Regions from separate parts of the Homo sapiens genome. Here regions 1 and 3 are each linked to region 2. Evidence: promoter capture Hi-C in human tissues and cell types (Jung and others, 2019). All regions are on one chromosome and are shown on one strand. The core of a region is centred on a gene start or on the middle of the fragment in contact, and the rest is flanking DNA. Distances in the headings are between cores, read along the strand shown. Region 1 overlaps FBXL20 (F-box and leucine rich repeat protein 20). Region 2 holds the start of STAC2 (SH3 and cysteine rich domain 2). Region 3 overlaps CACNB1 (calcium voltage-gated channel auxiliary subunit beta 1).

What was found. The method cuts DNA at HindIII sites, captures the fragments that hold promoters and counts their contacts. A contact is called where the count stands out against the background at its distance.
Region 1: a contact is called between a fragment that was not itself captured here and the fragment with the promoter of STAC2 in region 2, in 1 of the 25 tissues and cell types used here (IMR-90 fibroblasts).
Region 3: a fragment that was not itself captured here is called in contact with the fragment with the promoter of STAC2 in region 2 in 1 of the 25 tissues and cell types used here (spleen).

What each region holds. Positions count from the first base shown.
Region 1 is chr17:39,261,619-39,265,758 of GRCh38, forward strand. FBXL20 (F-box and leucine rich repeat protein 20) reads right to left here. Exons shown (of 15, transcript NM_032875.3): 13 at 3,779-3,835; 14 at 2,557-2,769. Among named protein-coding and RNA genes, the nearest start is that of MIR548BC, 34 kb to the right of the region's middle. The HindIII fragment of the contact is 3,312 bases long and covers 1-3,250 here.
Region 2 is chr17:39,224,258-39,228,374 of GRCh38, forward strand. It overlaps STAC2 (SH3 and cysteine rich domain 2), which reads right to left and starts at 1,688. Exons shown (of 11, transcript NM_198993.5): 1 at 1,156-1,688. The coding sequence starts at 1,245. RefSeq lists an enhancer at 946-1,446. The HindIII fragment of the contact is 22,351 bases long and covers 1-4,117 here.
Region 3 is chr17:39,191,207-39,195,327 of GRCh38, forward strand. It overlaps CACNB1 (calcium voltage-gated channel auxiliary subunit beta 1), which reads right to left. Exons shown (of 14, transcript NM_000723.5): 2 at 3,678-3,764; 3 at 268-387. Among named protein-coding and RNA genes, the nearest start is that of CACNB1, 4.4 kb to the right of the region's middle. RefSeq lists an enhancer at 1,647-2,147. The HindIII fragment of the contact is 5,691 bases long and covers 1-4,121 here.

The sequences.
Region 1 (4,140 bases), core at 345-2,844, 37 kb after region 2:
AGCAATGTTGGTTCTTAGAAAAACTACCGAGGGGCTCAATGAACATAAAAGCAGGGCAAAGGCTGAGCACTGGTCAGGATGTTAGAGGGCCTGGGTTCTACTTTGTTCCATCCTAGGTTGTTCTCAATGACCAGAACAACTCATATGACTTTGGTACCTGTTTGTGTAATAATAAAACTGAGGGCCGGGCGCGGTGGCTCACGCCTGTAATCCCTGCACTTTGGGAAGCCGAGACGGGCGGATCACGAGGTCAGGAGATTGAGACCATCCAGGCTAACATGGTGAAACCCCGTTTCTACTAAAAATACAAAGGCTAATTTTTGTATTGTTAGTAGAGACGGGGTTTCACCATGTTGGCCAGACTGGTCTCGAACTCCTGACCTCAAGTGGTCCGCCCAAGGATGGGAGATGGAAGAGACTCCTGGCAGCCAGGCAGTCTAGGAACCCTAATGTAAGTAGGCACGTAAGAGGCTCTGGTTGACCTGTGGCTCTCATTCTCTTTGGTGAAGAAAAAAAATGGCTGCAAGGCCACCCCCAGTGCAATTATGCTCACAGTCCTCTATGTCTGAAGAGGGGAAGAGGAACTGAGGCCAACTCGAACTCAAGATGAAGTTTGGTACTCTTTTATTTGCTCAAGGCCATGTGGCCAACGTGGATTTTTTAGAGGTTGGTATTTTTTTTGAGATAGAGTTTCATCTTGTTGCCCAGGCTGGAGTGCAATGGTGTGATCTTGGCTCACTGCAACCTCCGCCTCCTGGTTCAAGCGATTTTCCTGCCTCAGCCTCCTGAGCAGCTGGGATTACAGGCACCTGCCACCATGCTCGGCTAATTTTTGTATTTTTAGTTGAGATGGCATTTCGTCATGTTGACCAGGCTGGTCTTGAACTCCTGACTTCAGGTGATCCTCATGCCTCAGCTTCCCAAAGTGCTGGGATTACAGGCGTGAGCCACCGCGACTGGCCTAGAGGTTGGTATTAAGGGCCTGAATAAGCACACTGCCTTTCCTACAGCAGGTGTGAAGCAGATGTTCCAATAAACATCTGTTGAGCAGAACAATCTAACACACAGATTCATCCAGCTTTTTAAAACTTCTTTTTCGGCCGGGCGCAGTGGCTCATGCCTGTAATCCCAGCACTTTGGGAGGCTGAAGCGGGCGGATCACGAGGTCAGGAGGTCGAGACCATCCTGGCTAACACGGTGAAACTCTGCCTCTACTAAAAATACAAAAAGAAAATTAGCCGGGCGTGGTGGCATGCACCTGTAGTCCCAGCTACTGGGGAGGCTGAGTCAGGAGAATAGCGTGAACCTGGGAGGCAGAGCTTGCAGTGAGCCAAGATCATGCCACTGCGCTCCAGCCTGGGTGACAGAGCGAGACTCTGTCTCAAAAAAAAAGAACAAAAAACTTCTTTTTCTAGTTATTTGGCTATACCTGGGTCTCTCTATTATGGTGGATAGGTCCAAAAGCAAAGGTAAAAATCTGGGCCTGGCACAGTGACTCACACCTGTAATCCGAGCACTTTGGGAGGCTGAGGTGGGAGGATCGCTTGAGGCCAGGAATTTGAGACTAGCCTGGGAAACATAGCAAGACCTTGTCTCCACAAAATAGTTTTTTAAGGCCGGGCATGGTGGCTCACACCTATAATCCCAGCACTTCTGAAGGCCAAGGCAGGCAGATCGCTTGAGCTCAGGAGTTTGAAACCGGCCTGGGCAACATGGTAAAATGCCGTCTCTACCAAAAATACAAAAAATCAGGCTGGCGTGATGGCACACGCCTGTAGTCTCAGCTGTTGGGAGGCTGGGGTGGCAGGAAGCCTTGAGCCTGGGAGACAGAGGTTGCAGTGAGCCAACATCGAGCCACTGCACTCCAGCCTGGGTGACAGAGGAGACCCTGTCTTAAAAAATGAAAAAAACAAGTTTTTCATAAAATTACCTAGGTGTGGTGGTGTGTGCCTGTAGTCCTAGCTACTGGGGATGCTGAGGTGGGAGGATCTTAAGCCTAGGAGTTCGAGGCTGCAGTGTGCTAACAAGGTGCCACTGCACTCCTGCCTGGGCAACAGAGTGAGATCCCATCTCTTAAAAGAAAGACAGAAAAGGTAAAAGTCTATGTCTACTTTACTTGTTGCCTTAAAAAATATGAATCCCAGGAAGAGGGCTCAATGTGAAACACAATTACAAATTAAATTCTTAAATCCCATTTAACCAAACACTTTCTCTGTTATTCCTTTCTTTCCTTTAGAACAAAAATGTGGCATGTGCTTTTTTTTTTTTTTTTCTTCAATCTGGGAATGTTATTAAGCCCTAGACATTATTAGACAGACTCTGCTGGGAGGAGACCTACTTTTCTTCCCTTCAGTGGGTCTTTTCCTACTAAATTTCCATCTCTGGAGCCAGAGGGAAAAACTATCTGTCCTTAGGTTTGCACTTTTTTCTCTTTCCCTTGTTAAATGTTCAAGTAAATATAAAAATCATAGGAACCTAAATTTGAAAAAAGGAAAAAAAAAGAGAGAAGAAAGTGCTGCTAACACTAGAGTTGGAGAGTTATGTAGCCATTTTTACCCTGAGTCTCTTGATTCCAGCCCGTGTGATTTGCTGGCAGTCATAGAGTTCTATCCGCTCAAGGCTATGACAGCTCTTCAAGTGCTCCAGGGATGCATCTGTGATTAGTGGGCAGTTGTCCAGCTCAATCACCTCCAGCTGGTCATGGGCGCAGGCCCCATTCCCCAGGTGACGAATTCCATCATCTGTGATCAGCTCACAGTGAGACAGACTCTGCAGCCAAATAGAGCAAGGAAGGATGTTGAAATATCTTCTGGCATTCCTCTAGCCAGAGGCTTGTGTGAATTGGAAAGGAGACATTTTGGTTTGATTTTGATGAATATGGAGCTGGCACTAGATCCACGTGGTGAAATTTAAAAAACTAGAGATAGTGGGGTTATGCTTTTGGCAATCAGTGATTGATATTTTGGTGTGTGATTCTAAATATATTTTATAAATTCATGTAATGACTATGAAGTAGTTCATAAACAAAATAAGACAGCCTTAAAAATTACCCCTTCCTCAAATTAACACTTTTCCTTCTCTACAGGGATAAATGGGAATCAAGCTTTTCATGCAGTTTTCTGGAATTTGAACTAAATATTGAATATCTGGTTCAGAGACATGCCCCAACAATTAATTAGCTGAAGATTTTTACAGCTGTCAGGTGTGATCATCTCATCATCTCTTCATCAATATTTATTAAATCCCTGATCCTGGGAAACTCAGAAAATCTTGACCCAATTTTAGATAGTACTGTGTCACCAAACACCAAAAATGAGCCTGGATACAACAGAACAGTCACTCAGAATGCCTTCCTCTAGTGTCACTGAAAGTAGGAGCAGAACACCCCTTAGTAAAGCTTTGATTGGTTCCATTCTTACGACCAGTAACATTACATCTTAAGGTGAAGCAAATTGTATTTTGGGCAATCTGATCCCCTGGATCTCTAGAAATTTAAACATCATTCAGGTTGGAGTATAAGTTATCTACAAAAGAGAACTCATATGTTCCAAGGCAGTTTTCAGTCTTCAAGCATTGATATAGAAAACATTTAACTTTTTCAGTTCTTATCTGTTTCCTACTTCACTCATGTACTCCTTTGGTTCTCAGTAAGCTGGCAGTTTGAAGAAGCATCCTTTCCTAAAATGGTAGCCAGACACTAAGAGCTGGGTTCTTGAACTGTAGCACTGGCTTTTGATTAAACCCAGTAAACACATAAAGTTTTCAAAGTTAAACTCACCAATACTTGAAGTCGAGGACAGTGTATAGAAAGTTGGATTAATGTGCTATCTGTTATCTGAAAGAAATAACGTATGTTGATTTTAGGTATAATCCAAATAAAATCCTGAGTCATACCTGATTCTTTTTTCTTTTAGTCTTGCTCTGTTGCCCAGGCTAGAGTGTAGTGGTGCAACTATAAGCTCACTGCAGCCTAAAACTTCTGGGCTCAAGCAATCTTCCCACCTCAGCCCCCTGAGTAGCTGGGACAACAGGCACAAGCCACCAGGACTAATTTTTTAAATTAAAAAAATTTTTTTTTTTTTTTTGTAGAGACAGGGTTTCCCTATGTTGCCCAGGCTGCTCTTGAATTCCTGAGCTCAA
Region 2 (4,117 bases), core at 438-2,937:
TGGTCCTCACTGTCCCCTTTCGCCTCTGGAGAACAGGAGCAGGATGGGAACAAAATACCGGGTGAAGGGGGAGGGAGGAGGTCTTGGCCTGAAGTCTGGGAGGTGGCAGGGCGCGCCCTTGGCACAGCCCTTTCTATCCCAACCCCAGGCCCGCTCAGGTTGATCCCGCAGAAACAGAACTTCTCGCGGGCCAGTCGCCAGCACCTAGAACTTGGGAAGGGAGCAGACGGATTAGAGGTCGGGGGAGTGCTGAGTGTGAGCGGCGGCCTCCCCACACCCCTTTCAGCGCCAGGAGTCTGGGCTCCGCCTGCCTTCGCGGGGAGTAATTTATTCATGGTGACTCCCTCAGGAGTAACAATCATCCATAATTAGGGTTAATGATGACATTCATTAATTACGATGACTTCTCTTTTTGCTTCTACCCGCTCCCCCTCCTCTGGTCCCGCTCCCGTGGTGGGGCGCGGGGCTGCCTGTCTTTCTGGTCTGGAGCCACAACCGCAGGCCCCCGTCCTCGCCCGTGACCGACGGCCGGCGCTGCTGCAGGCCCCCTCGCGGACTCCGCAGCTGCGCACCCCCGGCCGCGGCCTCGCGTCCCCGAGCCCAACAGGGCTAGGAGCGGGGAATGCAGGACTGCGGAGGGGCAGGGAGAGACGCCCTGAGACGCGGAGATAAACACCCGGAGACGCCGGGAGAGACGGGGAGAGACGCACACAGAGACACCAAGACACAGACACGCAGGTTGTAGAGACAAATTCAGAGACACGAGCGAGGATAGAGGCGCGGACTGAGCCCGGGACTGGGACCCGGCGGCCGCTGGAGGGTGCGCCTCGCACGCACAGCCGGGCGCGTACCCCGCCCGCACCGCTCCACGCGCGCCCTCCGGCCTCGCTGCGCCCATCTCTCCAACGAAGACCAGTGGCCGCCTCCCCAGAAGGTCGCGATGGCGCGCGCGGGCGTGCGGTGCCGGTGTGATCGGGGGCTCCTTGTGGCCCCTCGTCGCCAACCCACTCCTACCCCCGGGAGCGGCGCGGAGCCTCAGTGGTCACGCGGGCCTCGCGACCGCGACCCTAGGACGCCCGGGCCCACAGGAGGACCCCGCCGGGAAGAGGGCGCCCGGGCCCGGGGCGCGGACAGGCCTTGCGCCCCCCAAGTTACCTTGGTTTCCTGGAGGGCGGAGACGGTCCCTGGGGGGCTGTGGGTGGCCGCGTCATCCGGTTCGTTCTCCTTCTCGCTCATCTCGGTCATGGTTCGGGGAGAGGGGAGGAGAGGGTGCCGAGATCCGACGGCAGGCCCACCGCGGGCAGGCTGCGGGTGGCGGGCGTCTCCGGGACTCTGAAGCCGTTCTCCAGAGGCTGCCCCCAGTTAGCCCCCGGCACGGCAGCCCCCAACCCGCGGGAGCGGGCAGAGAAAGTTGCCGGGGTGGCGGGCGAGGGGAGGCCACCACGCTGAGCCGCAGGAGCGGGACGACCCCGGGCGCGAGGACCGAGGGTCTGCAGAGGATGCTGCTCGCAGCGCGGGGAGGAGGGAAGTGGGGCCGCGGGGATGAGCCGAGGGAGGGAGCCAAGGAGCTGTCCGTGTCCAGCCGGCTCCGCCGTCCGCTGCGCCCGCCCCCCATCCCCTCCCCTCCCCCGCCGGCCCCAGCCCGGCACCCGGCGGCCCCTCCGCCCAGTCCTCGCCGCCCAACTTTGATTTAGGAGGTCGCCTGGTCCCGCCCCCTGCCCTACGCCGCTCCCCCGCGCAGCCCTGCAAATCAGGCTCTCAGCTATTGGCTGCCTCGGTGGCCAGGAGGGCGAACTGGGCGGAGTCTTGGGGGGCTCGACACGATGGGGCGGGGCTTGGCGGGGAAAGAAGCGGAGGAGGGAGTTTCACACTGAAAAACCCGGGATGGAGGGGCGTGACCAGATTGAGGGAAGCTTGGGGAGATCATAGTAGCGTCTGGATGGGTTGCAGGGAATAGAAATAGGTTGGGGCCGCAGCAAGATAGCGGAGAGTGAGATCGAAGCTAGGACTTCCAAAGAGCGAAGATTGATAGATGCCAGAGGTTGGTGAAGGAAGAATGGGGACCCATCTGTGCCATTAATTGGATGCCTTTATACCCTGAAAAGGCTCTCTCCAAATATACACACAACTGGACTATGGTGTATGTGTCAAAGGCCAGGCCGGACAATTCCTCCTTGTGATGGAAAGCCGGATGACTCTATCCCCTTCCAGTCTTGGCGTCTGAACTTCAGCAGAGATGGGGGCTCAGTCCTCACACCCAAAGTCCCCAAACTTCTCTGAGACACGCTCCCCTCCTAAAGATCCTACCACAACTGGAGTTAGATCAGGGGATAATACAGAGAGGTGGGGGAAGAGGTCCTCACCATCACCTTCCAAGGTGCCCCTCTCTCCACAATAACCTTCTATTTTTTATTTTTTTATTTTTTTATTTAGAGACAGGGTTTCACTCTTTCACCCAGGCTGGAGTGCAGTGGTGCGATCATAACTCACTGCAGTCTCAAACTCCTAGGCTCAAGCAATCCTCCCACCTCAGCCTCTCTAGTTGCTGGGACCACAGGCATACGCCACCATGCCTGGCTAATTTTTAAAATTTATTGGTAGAGACAAGTCTTGCTATGTTACACAGGATGATCTCCAACTCCTGGGCTCAAGCGATCTTCTCACTTTGGCCTCCCAACGTATTGGGATTACAGGCGTGAGCCACTGTGCCCGTTCAAGATATTTCCAATATTTCTTCTTCTCCTTCTCTTCTTCTTCTTTTTTTTTTTTTTTTTTTTTTTTTTTTTTTGGAGACAGGATCTTGCTCTATTGGCCAGGCTGTAGTGCAGTGGCTTGATCACACCTCACTGTAGCCTGGACCTCCTGGGCTCAACCCTCCCAAGTAGCTGGGACCACAGGCACATGCCACTGCACCCAGCTAATTTTAAAATTTTTTGTAGAGATGGAGTCTCGCTATGTTGCCCAGGCTAGTCTTAAACTCCTAGGCTCAAGTGACCCTCCTGCCTCAGCCTCCCAAAGTGCTGGGATTACAGGTGTGAACCACCACACCTGACCAAGATACCTCTTCTAATGCATGTTGATTATCTGGGACCCATTTTCTCAGGTCCCCCTCCCTCACCTCCAGCCCTCTTTCCTTCTGCCCCTTCTGGCTCTGACCAGCAGATCTGGCTTCCTCTCTTGGTCTGCCCAAGAAAAGGGAGATGCACTGGTGGCTGAGAGAACCTTTCCCTGGTGTGGGTGGAGAGACTTCTGGGTTTAAGTCTCCCTCCTCCTCTGCTGTGGGTGGTAAGATTGTGGGTGGGGGGTGCCACATGGGGGGCCTGAGGTGCTGAAGGGGGCCCTTATGCTAGCCTGAAAGTTGAGGGGTGGGGTGAACACCTCCACCCCCCACTCACCTCCCCCCATGCACACAGCCATTCATAGGATCTCTGCCCTCCCAAGCACGAGCTCACCATTGGAGCCCTGCTCAGGTTACCCTGTCCAGGAATAGAGATTTATTTGCCAGTGGCAGAAGTAGGACAAGGGCACAGTGAGGGTTCATGGTTGTAGGGGCTCTGACTTCGAGATTTCCTGAGGAAGGTGGGATGGAGCCTGAGTGCCATCAAATCAGTCTCCCCAAAGGCCTGTTCATGGCCAACCTTCCCCCATCTCCCACTGGACTGTCCTTCTCACTCCTGCCCAGCCCAGGCCAGTCCAGCCTTCCCTCCCTGGGCAGCTCAGATGCTGGGATGCTTGCAGCATTGAGACAGCAACATCAGGCCCTCCACTTATCCTGGGCTGGAACACACAGGGCCTTCTTCTGAGTTTGGAGATCTTCTGGGGGAGGTGCCCCTGTCTCCTCCCAAAGAGCAGGGGCTTTGGGTTCCTTAGGGGCCAGTACCTCTTTGGTCACTAATTAAGTGTGTGACCTTGGGCAGATAACTCAATCTTTTAGAGATTTTGTTTGTTTTGAGACGGAGTCTAGCTTTTGTTGCCCAAGTTGGAGTGCAATAGCAGGACCTCGGCTTACCACAACCTCCGCCTCCTGGTTCAAGCGATTCTCATGCCTCAGTCTCCCGAGTAGGTGGGATTACAGGTGCCCGCCACTACATCCAGCTAATTTTTTGTATTTTTAGTA
Region 3 (4,121 bases), core at 98-2,597, 33 kb before region 2:
AAACAAAAAAAAGAAATTTTTAGCACTTATCAAGCCCTTATTATGTGTGGAAACAGTATAATAACACGCACTTATTATACTTATTATACTGTATAAGCAGGCAGGTATTATAGCCCACATTGTGCAGGTGAAGGACAGAGGAGCAAGGTTCAGGGGTACTAGGAAGTGGCTGGGTCAAGACTTGGCCCTGGTTCTGTCTGGGCTCTCTCTACAGCCCAGGACTGGGGGAAATCATGCCAGCACAGCCCCTCCCCACATCTTTCTCACCTTGGCCTTCTCGAGCTGCGCTAATGCCTGGCGCTCTGCTTCCTTCCTTAAGGCTTCCCGGTCCTCCTCCAGAGATACATCAGAGTCTGATGGACGGCTGGTGTAGGACTCCGCTGAGCCCTGAAAATAGAGAGAGCCAGATCAGGGCCATTGCTGCCCCTCCCAGCTCCTGGGCCTGGGAAGGCATGGAGGTGCCACCCATCATGGATGCCTCGAGCCCCAGCCAGCCCAGCATGACACCACAAGGGCTAAGACAAGGTGGTATTAGGTGGAAGGGACCAGGAGCTGAGATTTCTCAGGCCCCTGGGGAAAGTGTGGCCCTAGTGAGGGTGACAGCAGCAAGCAGGAGATGAAGGCAGGCCCAAGGACAGCTGCTTGGGGCCCAGGGAGGGGTGGGAACCTGATAGGGGCACAAGGCAAGGGAGGAATGCCAGGGACGAGTCTCTACTCCCACTGCTCCTTCCCTCCCCTGCCCCCAGCACCCGCTGAGATAGACTCAGCTGAGGTCCAGTGGCATCCATTCCAGGGACTGCAGCCACCAGCTTCGGCCTGAGCTCTCTGCACTATCAGCCGTGGACGGCCTGCTCCGCAGGATGGGGCCACCACAGATTTTGCCAGCTTCTGTTCAAGGGTAGAGGGAGACAGACTCCTACCTCCCCTGCTCCTCTTAACTGGTACTGCCAGAATCAAACTTCACTACTTACAGCCCCAGTCCTCAGGCTCTCCTAGGACACAAGAGAACCCAAGAGTTCCAGGCTGGTACAGACCGAAGAGGCAAGTTAAGAGCAGGATATGGGACAGGGCTTTCCCTGAAATGAGGGCTGCTGGGTGCCAGACAGCTGGCTTTGACCACAATGACCAACCCAGAGCACAAGGGACTCCTTTAGGGATGCACACATATGTGTAAGACACATGTTGCCCGTACAGACCTGGTAGTGGGAATGCACGTGCTTCTTCATGTGTGTGTGTGGATGTGCAAGTACAAGTGTGTGGAGGAGGGTGTGCTCTATAGTTGGCTGCATATGACTGTGTGTGTACAGCCACATGTGAGTGTACTGGGGGGGAGCTCCCAGACATCTGTGACCCTGAGGTTGGGGGACATGTGAGGGCAGGAGGCAAGAGGTGTGGATTTGTGTGACTATGCAGGGGTGGTGTTGGACAAGGCATAGGAGGTTATGTGGCAAAAGAGGAGGACTGCAGGGATGTAGGGGTTCTTTCCTGAGGGCAGAAAAGGGTCACTTGGCCAGGAAGGTCCATAAGTTTGGCATGGAGGGGACCTGGGAAAGACAGAAACAAAGTCCCACCTCTCCCCAGGGGCCTCAGGTCATTAGCTGGTGCAGCTGCCCATCTCTTTCCCAGACAAATAATGAAAATGGGAGACCCGCGGAGGAAGGGTTGGGGTGGAGCGGGGGTCACTAACAGAAGTGGGGAAAGAGGCATGAAGGAGAGAAGGAGAGAAAACCAGCGTAGCTCCCCCTCTCCCCCCTGATGGGAGCACGCAGAGTCAAAGAGCCAGGGAAACAGACAGGGAGACAGACTAGCAGAGAGGCACTCACCGACCCCAACACACACGCGGGCATGCGCGTGCACACACACACTCACCAACCCCAACACAAATGCAGGCATACGCGCGCACACACTCACTGACCCCAACACACATGCAGGCACGCGCACGTGTACACATACACACACAGTTACATGCACACACACAGACACACATGCAGACGCACATGTGCGGGCAGACACACACACATATGCAGACACACAGGTGCACACAGACACACATGTAGGCATGCGCACACATACACACACATATGCAGACACATGTACGCGCATACACACGCACACATCAGAAATGGCAGAAGACAGGAAACAGTGAGGAGGCATGGAGACACGCTGGAGTAAAGGCTGCCCTCCGTCAGCTTTCCTGAGAGGCTGTTCTACCCGCTGCCACCCCACTCCATCCCCAGCTCACCACCACCACGGTCCGGCTGGGCGCCTCCATCCCGGCACCCTCAGTGCCTGGCCCTGCTGGCCTAGGGGGTGGCCCAAACTGCCCGTTCCCTTGGGGGCTCGGGTTACAAGCAGAGTTGCTACATGTGCAGACTGCTAGGGTATATTTAGCTCAGAGATGTGGCAAGGACTGCCCCCCTCCACCACTCCCCACCACCTACCGGGGATCAGAGCTGGGGAGCTAAAAGGAGGAAGAATTGGAGGCTGGGGTCTGACTCCCTGGGTTGGCAAACACTGAAGGAGCCAAGGTCCTTTTCTGCCAAGAGGGGCAATAAAAGCACAGCGTCATTCTTCCCAGCCCTGGCCATGTCCTGCAACAGGAGGGATGAGGGGGTGATTGAAGAAAGGACTTCCTGTCTGTTCCTATACTTAGAAAAGGCTAGAATGAAGCCTCCCCTTCCTGAACCTCCCAAGTCAGACTGAGGCTCACATGTGCCAAGTGCTGTAGAGACAGAAGAAACGGAAAGAAGGGCCTCACTCTAATTAGTGGTGGATCTGCCTGGCATCACCCTCGCTCCTGGCCCAAGGTGGAAGGGAGGGGCTCATCTCCAGAGGACCCCTCCTCTGTGCTGTCTTCTGCCCTCAAATGCCCTGCCCATTTCCTCTTCAATACACGCCTTTTCCTTGTCTAATCCCAAGCCCCTCTCGCCTTTTTTGGGTACCAGGCTTTGGTGAGATGCTAAGTAGTCATAGCAACCACATGCCTCTCTCAGTCCCTCACCCTGAGCCTAAGATGGCCCAGGGTTGACAGATGAGAGCAGCCGCTTACTGACTGAGCACAGAAGACCCCAGAAAGCTATTCTCAGTTACACCCTTTCAGGCAGGGGTGCTGGGCTATCATCTTCTCTATTATAAAATCAACAGCCTCATGCCTCAACCACCCCCACCCCCGTCACCATCACCCTTTCTCTGTGCTTCTTAGACAGTCATGTCTCGAGGTGAGGAGCGTGTTTCCCTGGCCAGGACCTCACCAGGACTACAGGGACCCAAACATCCTTGCTCTGCTTTTCCTAGGACCTGCCTCCACCCAACCCTGTCACAGATTCTGGGGGAGGACATGGAAGCAGACAGCCGGCAGGGGGAGTGGGTGACAGCCCGAAGCAAGCTGGAGGGAGGCAGGCCAGGCTGTCCCTGAATGAGATGACGCAGGCCAGCAGGCAGCAGGGGAGGGTGCCTGGTGCTGGGGGAGGGGCCGGGCAGGGGCGGGGGCTGAGCGAGTGGGTGCCGCTGACAGCACATCCAGAAGAGGTCATGGGGTGTCAGGGTGATGGGGTGGCTCCAGGCAGGTGACAAATGGCACAGGGAAGGGTGCCTGGACAATACCGCAGACCTGGCTCACCAATGCTGGTCTCCACCAACCAGCCACCTCCCTCCTCTCCGCCCAGCCTCCCCATTACCTGGCGGACAAAGCTGTTGGATGTGGTATCCGAGGACGTGCTCCCATCTGACCGTTTGAATCGCCCTTTCCTCTTGCTGTATTTGCCCTGAAGAGGCCAGGAAAGGAACAAGAGTAGAATCAGAAGGGCCCTTTCCCAACCCTCATCTTGCCAGCCCCAGAGCTACAGCCAAGCTTGGGAACAGCACTCCCAGCCCCACCTCCACCCCCCTGCACATTCCTCCTGAGGTGGTACGACCCAAGGGGAGGGAGGGTCTCCCATCCTCACGGAGAGGGCCCAGAGCACAGCCAGGAGTGGGGACCAGTGCAAGAGAGCCCCAGAAGACCCACACGGAAACCACCAAACCAAGCCAGAGAGGCTGGGAAGGGGGGAGGCGCGGAGAAGCTGGAGGCTCATTAGGCAGCAGAGCTAATTAAGATGCTGGGCAGGCTGCAGAGGCCTCCG